2 separate regions of the Homo sapiens genome follow, and region 2 is linked to region 1. The links are contacts of gene promoters, found by promoter capture Hi-C in human tissues and cell types (Jung and others, 2019). All regions are on one chromosome and are shown on one strand. The core of a region is centred on a gene start or on the middle of the fragment in contact, and the rest is flanking DNA. Distances in the headings are between cores, read along the strand shown. Region 1 holds the start of SLC1A1 (solute carrier family 1 member 1). Region 2 overlaps SPATA6L (spermatogenesis associated 6 like).

The links. Contacts are between HindIII fragments. The study calls those that stand out against the background at their distance.
Region 2: a contact is called between a fragment that was not itself captured here and the fragment with the promoter of SLC1A1 in region 1, in 1 of the 25 tissues and cell types used here (heart right ventricle).

The regions. Positions count from the first base shown.
Region 1 is chr9:4,488,239-4,491,790 of GRCh38, reverse strand. SLC1A1 (solute carrier family 1 member 1) reads right to left here and starts at 1,323. Exons shown (of 12, transcript NM_004170.6): 1 at 1,021-1,323. The coding sequence starts at 1,111. It also overlaps a transcript of GLIS3 not described here. RefSeq lists a silencer at 1,096-1,525 and an enhancer at 1,676-1,725. The HindIII fragment of the contact is 11,033 bases long and covers 1-3,552 here.
Region 2 is chr9:4,639,993-4,643,954 of GRCh38, reverse strand. All of the region lies in intron 3 of SPATA6L (spermatogenesis associated 6 like), which reads left to right. Among named protein-coding and RNA genes, the nearest start is that of PLPP6, 20 kb to the left of the region's middle. The HindIII fragment of the contact is 6,593 bases long and covers 1-3,962 here.

The DNA.
Region 1 (3,552 bases), core at 74-2,573:
TTTCCAAGGGGAAGGTGGAGCCTGCCGAGGAATCCACATTCCTCAGAGGGTGCAACAGCCCTCACCTGCTGAGGAGCTATCACTGGGAAGGCGACAGATATGGCGCTAATCCCAAGGAAGTGCATCCCCGGGCCGGAGCTAGAAACACACAACCTTGGTAAAAAATCAGAATCTAAATAGGAATAACTCATACCTCTGAGCAATGGCTCAGACATCCACCTGGTCCAGTGATCTGTGAGGGGTGGATCACTTAAATACACCCTTGTTTAAAAACAGGCAAGGATGGCTTAAACATTATCTTAAATACAAAAACAACGTGGAGAGCAAGGAAGGCAGGAGAAGAGACGGCTGAGTTCTCTTAGCTCTCTTCCCCGGTGACCTCCCGCGGGCCACAGTGGCACATCCCAGAATTCAGGCACGAATCTGGCAGCTTTTCAGAGCCCGGGTGCAGGCAGTCGGCGCTCGCCGCGTGGGAAGGCACCTTTCCACGCACTGCCCAGGATGAGCGGCGACAGCGTTCTCAGCCTCCCTCCCCTAAGGGTCCGGCCCATCCCGGAGGCCAGGGTGCCTCTTCCAATTCGACTGAGAACTGTAATCCACACTCAATCTCTGCCCGCGCAGCGAGGCTGGGGGTGTGGGGTGAGGAAGGTGGCGGTGATAGGGGGAGATACGGTGCGGGATTAACAAAGAAAAAAATCGAACCCTGTTTTCAAACGAGCAGAACCAAGAGCTACTTGCTTCCCTTTCTACCCCCAAGCCCCTTTGATCATTTTGGGTAGAGCAGGAACCAGCAGCTCAAGGAGCACTCAAATGGGAGTCCCAGAGGAGCTTTGTTCTTGGTGTGCAGTAATTAGAGCGCTTGGGGGAAAGCCCCCGCAGGGGGCCCGAGGCTAAGGCCGAGGGGGCATCGAGGGACCCTGCATGGAGTGCGCCAGCGCCAAGCCCACCCTCAGCCGCACGCGGCCTGGGCGCAGAGAGCGCGTGAGGGTGCGCGCATCGCCCACCCGCCGCGCCGCTCACCTAGCACCACCGCGGCCACGGTGGACAGCAACACCCAGTTATTCTTCAGGAAGCGCTTCCACTCGCATCCTTTCCTCGCCGGTTTCCCCATGGCTGTCGCCGCTATTGTGCGCTGGGCTCGGCCGTGCGCGCGTGGGCTGGGCGACCCGGGGACTGCTGGCTGCTCGGCGGCGCGGCGAGATGCGGGTGCACAGGGGAGAGGTGAGAGCCGGCCGCTGCAGTCGCCGCCGTCACCACCGCCGTTGCCGCCGCCACCCGGGATCGCGCACCGCGCCCGCCGCCCTGCCAGCCCGGTAGTTTTGCGTGGCAGGCGCGCCCGGCTCCTCCTGCTGCCGCCGCGCTCTGCGGCGCCTGGGCCAACCAGCGAGGAAGGAGGGAGGAGCGGCAGGCCCGGGAAGGAGGGTGGGTGCGTGCGTGGGACGCCCGGGGTCCCTAGGGAGCAGGCGTGGTAGGGCGCCCAGCGCTGCGGCAGGAGCTGGGGCGGCCTCTCCGGGAACCCTGAGTCCCGCCCCACAGCCTTCCACTGGAGTCTGTCTCGCTTTCCACGCCTCACTCATGCTAGGGCTTTGGGTTAAGGGTTTTCTTCTGTCCCTAACCCAGAGAGGCGGAGCCACTGCCCTCCTGGGCGCGGACTTCATCCTGCACGTCTCCCTCTCCGTTCTCCACACCAGCTATTTCCAGCGCCGGCACCTGCAGAACGGGTGCCCTTTCAAGTCGGGGGAAGCTGATCCTGCCTTGGGTCCCTCTTGCTCGGCTACTCAGGCTGGGATGTGCCAGCAGCCGCGAAAGCCTGAAGCTTCTGGGAGGAGAGAAAGGAGTCCTGGGGCAGAACATGGCTTTGGAAACTTTCACGCGGAGCCTCCAGTGCCCCCACAGGGATTATTCTCCTCTTCGAGTCGCTGGAGGTGATTTGTCTGTGGACACTGGGCTTGGGAGTGTTCCCTGCACAAGGAGATGGTGATTTCTCTTAGAACTTTACTTCTGCTCCTTGGGACTTGCTCTGTGACCACAGGCCCTGGAGCATGGAGGCTTGGGGCAGTGATTAGAACTGAGAACCGGACCCGGGAGCCGCTCTGGGGAGAAAGTGGGCGGTCCATCCCCTAAGGTCCAACGGATTGGAAAGGCAAACACAGGAGAAACTAGGTTAGTGGTGCCAAATATATTTGGTGTTGCTAAGTGAATTTCTGATGCTCTTCCATTTTTCTACCCAATTTTTTCACTCTCACGTATACAATCTCTTTCCCTCCCTTTACCAAATCAGTACCTCCGCAGCTGTAAGCGGTCTTCTTATCAGCGTTCCTAAAGTTAAGTGAGCCTGGAACCCTTTTTGCTATTGTAGAATCTACTCTGATTGTGGGTAGGGAGAATTTCCCCTACTAGATTTTCTGATGACTAAATCCCCACAATTAGAGCTTCATCCCTTTGGTGTAAATTGATACAAGCATCTTTTAAGCGATAATAGATTAAGATTTACAACCCTGTAGACTTTAGTATGAATGAGTTTATCAGCTCTTTATAGAAAGTAAACTTTGAGAGAAAGAAGGTTAGAGGGATTTTAAGGTCGTTGGGTGTCCGAGGAAGATCTGAAGAAATGTCAGAAGGGGACCCGGGTGCGGTGGCTCTTGCCTGTAATCTCAGGACTTTGGGAGTCCGAGGCGAGCGGATCACGAGGTCAGGAGATTGAGACCATCCTGGCTAACACAGTGAAACCCCGTCTCTGCTAAAAATACAAAAAAATTAGCCGGGCGTGGTGGCACGTGCCTGTAGTCGCAGCTACTTGGGAGGCTGAGGGAGGAGAATCGCTTGAACCTGGAAGGTGGAGATTGCAGTAAGCTGAGATCAAGCCACTGCGCTCCAGCCTAGGCGACAGAGCGAGACTGTCAAAAAAAAAGAAAAAAGAAAGAAAGAAGGAAGGAAATGTCAGAAGGGAAACTATCAAGAAAGGGAGAATAGTCCCGGGCGCGATGGCTCACACCTGTAATTCCAGCAATTTGGGAGGCCAAGGCAGGCGGATCACTTGAGGTCAAGAGTTCGAGACCAGCCTGGCCAACATGGGGAAATCCCGTCTACCAAAAATACAAAAATTAGCCGGGTTTAGGGCCATGCACCTGTAATCCCAGCTATTCGGGAGGCTGAGACAGGAGAATCACTTGAACCCAGGAGGTGGAGGTTGCGGTGAGCCGAGATCACGCTGCAGCACTCCTGCCTGGGCGACCGGAGGGAAACCCTGTCTCATAAAAAAAAAAGAGAGAGAGCGTGCGCGAGAGAACAGATTTGTCCCACAGTAAAAAAACAGCTGGAAAAAACGCAAATGTCCAACATAAATGGAATGGTAAATATATTATGGAACTGCCAAGCAACAGTACCTTATGCAGCCTACATAAAGGAAGTTTATGAAGTTTTTAACAGCATGGGATGGCACATGTTATAAATCTATATTTATAAATATAAAGGGAAGAAAGAAATACTAAAATTGCATGTACAATTTGATCACATGTGTGTAAAATAAACATATTGGCCAGGTGCAGTGGC
Region 2 (3,962 bases), core at 1,078-3,577, 150 kb before region 1:
GCTCACTGTAACATCCACCTCCCGTGTTCAAGTGATTCTCCTGCCTCAGCCTCCTGAATAGCTGGAATTATGGGCACCTGCCAATGCGTCCAGCTAATTTTTGTGTATTTTTTGTAGAGTCAGGGTTTCACCAAGTTGGCCAGGCTGGTGTCGAACTCCTGACCTCAGGTGATCTGCCTGCTTCGGCCTCCCAGAGTGCTGGGGTTACAGACGTGAGCCACTGCCCCCGGCCTACATCATTATTTTGATAGCTATAAAGAATTTTATTAATTTACATATGTGTTTTTTATAGGTCTATAAATAGTATTTCCATAGTATTTTGGGTTTTACTTTTCTTACTTTACATTATTACCTGTAGTTTACTTGTCATTTTCAATAGCTGTGTATTTTTCCATAGTGGTGGTGTTATCCATAAATTAATATTGTTGAGCATTTAGATTTTCTTTTTTTCCACATTTTTATAAAAATATTTCTCTCTTGGTATATTTACAAATAATAGAATTACTAGATTGAACCATGCCTTTTAAACTGGGGTAAACTGATCCCCAATAAGGTTCCAATACTTCTACTGCATCCAGGAGTGCATGGCATGCCCCTTCCCCATATCCTAGTTAATGCTGGATACTGTCAATTGGATTTGTTGTGTTTGCAAAGTATGTCATGGCTCACGCTTATAATCCCAGCACTTGGGGAGGCCAAGGTGGGCGGATCATGAGGTCAGGAGTTTGAGACCAACCTGGCCAACATAGTGAAACCCTGTTTCTACTAAAAATACAAAAATTAGCTGGGAATGATGTCAGGTGCCTGTAATCCGAGCTACTTGGGAGGCTGAGACAGGAGAACTGCTTGAACCCGGGAGGCAGAGGTTGCAATGAGCTAAGATTGCACCACTGCACTCCAGCCTGGGCCACAGAGCCAGACTCCATCTAAATAAATAAATAGATAAAAATATATTTTATCCTATTTTATGATCTATCTCCCTTTTAGATGTGACTGTGACAACCTTAAATTTAAAACTTCTTAAAAATTTTCATTTTCCCATATTATGATTTGTTTTCTTTCTTTCCTTCTGTATAAAGTGACTGTCACTGTCCTTTGATTACTTATGGAGTGATGTCTGGATATAAATGTTGATTTTGTTATAAATTCTTATTTTTAACAATGTTTTCAATCAGTTATGCTTAAAACAGTTATATTTTCCCTGTTTTGTTGTGTTATTTTGATGTTTTATGGTGTGTGCTTTTCTTTTTCTTAAGAGAGCATGGGAGAAGGAAGATGAGACTAGCAAATGTCTCAACTAAAGCAAAGAGGACTGAGGAGGCTTTTGATAGGGATCATAGTCCTGCCTGCTGTGGATATCACTGGAGCAGGTCAAGGGCCCAAGTGAAGTGCAGTGAACCCAGGAGTCTGTAGTTCTTTCTTCTGCTTCTTGGTTCTTTGGCAAAGGCTGCCGCTGGAGACAGAAAAGAACCCCACTCTGTGAATTTAAGAATAGGTGCTTTTGGAGATGTCATTACCTTCATAGGTAGACGGAACTGAGCAGGTGCCTCCTGACTACTTTTCAGAAATTCTCACTGAATGTTTTTCAGCCTAAAAGTGACAGGCTGAAATCAGGGCATTGAGTTTTTTTCCATAAGTTTTTTATTCTTATTTGACCCAATTTTATGTTCAAACATATATCACTGCTGGCACATTATATTTTAGTATGCTGAGGAAGTAGAAGCATGCCCACTTTGGTCTTATTTAATTTTACATGGATTTTAAAAAAGTTACTCAATACCTAAGTAATCTCACTATAAAAAATTTAACACGAAAGTATGTAAAAGAAAATGTCAAAAGCCCATTCAACAATCCCTGACAGATAATTACCATTAACAATTTGATGTGGGCCAGGTATGGTGGCTTGCGCCTGTAATCCCAGCACTTTGAGAGGCAAAGGTGGGTGGATTGCTTGAGCACAGGAGTTCAGGTACAGCCCGGGAAACATGGTGAAACCTCATCTCTACTGAAAATAAAAAAATTAGCTATGTGTGCTGGTGCATGCCTGTAGTCCCAGCTACTTGGGAGGCTGGGGAGGTCACCTGAGCCAAAGAGGTTGAGGCTGCAGTGAGCTGTGATCTTGCCACTGCACTCCAGCTTGGGCAACAGAGTGAGACCCTGTCTCAACAAAACAAAACAGAACAAAACAATTTGATGTGTGTCTTTTTAAACCTTCTAAAATGCATTTAGTACATTCAGCCAACCGTAAAATAACCACACATGCACGCGCATACCCTATATATAGTTGGACCTTCTGATTGTCAAGTTCCACATCCATGAATTTGGCTAACCATTACTCGAAAATGTAGTTAGGCCTATGATGGTTGTGTCTGTACTGAACATGTACAGACTTTTTCTTGTCATTAGTCCCTTAACAATACAGCATAACAACTATTAGATAACATTTACATTATGTTAGGTATTATAAGTAATCTAGAGATGATCTGAAGTATACAGGAGGATGTGCATAGGTTATATGCAAATATTACACCATTTTATTTCTTATTTTTAATGTTTTATTATTATGCTCTTTTTACCTTCGACCAACTCACCGCAACTACACCATTTTATATCAGGGACTTGAGCATTCATGGATATTTTCATATCTGCAAGGGTTCCTGAAACCAACCTCCTGTGGATACTTAGGGATGACTATATATTAAATACAGTATATATAAACACGAATATATTTAGTATTTAGTATATATAGTTACGTGTGTATATATTTTATGGTTGTTGAATATACTAAATGTTGGTTTTCTGGTCTCTTGAAAGACATATGACAGTCCAAGATATACTGCATTTTAAAAAGTCAGTTGCAGAATATGTATTTTCAACATATATACACACACACCTATATATATGTTGACTATATATATTCTGCAACTTGCTTGTTAAAACTTAATATGTCTTGGAGTGCTATATGTTTTTCATGTGACAAGAAGCCCATCTGTGAAAAGGTTGCAAGAATAGTTGTTTGAAAAGAATGATTGCAGAATATTCTAGCTGAGTGCATAAATACTGGTTATAACTCAAAAATTAATAAGATGCACAATGGGAACTGTGTTATACTTGTTTTTTTAATTTACAATCTCTCAATTTCAGATTATAATTTTAGTGGAATTAAATTTGAATTGCTCAAAATAACAATTGATTTTACTTAGCTTCAGATGTAGTACAGTTTGATCCATTAATTTGTTCAAGGTATGTTTTTACAGGCATACTTTGCACATGATCTACACTGTGCCAGTCTTCCTAGTGTGATGCTGGTGGCTCCGGGCACGTAGTAGTGGCAGTGAGCCCTCATGATCTGCTGATCCTTGATACTAGCAAAAATTTTTTTTTTTTCTTAAAGTTTCCTGTGGACTGCACTGTGGGGTCACATGGGCCATATTTGGGTTCTCAGGGACCAATTTCTCTATTGGCTGAATTGTTACCTTTTCATTTAGCTGTATTTATTGCTTGATATTTTTTCTCATTGCTTTCAAACACACTTATACTCAAAAGACATGTTATGATCATTAAGTTAATGGTACAAGTAAATTAATAATACAAGTAATAATATCCAGATGTGCATATAGCTTTACTGCTAAAGAATGAAGAAGTCTAGTGATCTTTGCTGCCAAGAAATAAAGACCCTTCCTGTTCTTCAGTTTACAAAGGTGGGAAAAAAGGAATGGACACAGGGGGGCAGCGTGATCCTGTTCCACAGTGAGCTTGATGCTTTCTTTTTATTAACCTCTGAGATAAATACCTTCGCTTTGGGTAAGTCAGGTATATTCAGTCCAACTGTAAAAGCCTATTCTAGTGGGCACCCATTCACTTAACAGGGCTTAATTTTATACTTTTATAGCAGTGCTTTTATAGCAATATTTTATACTTTCATAGCAATGCTTTTATACTTTTATAGGCATTAGCAAGGA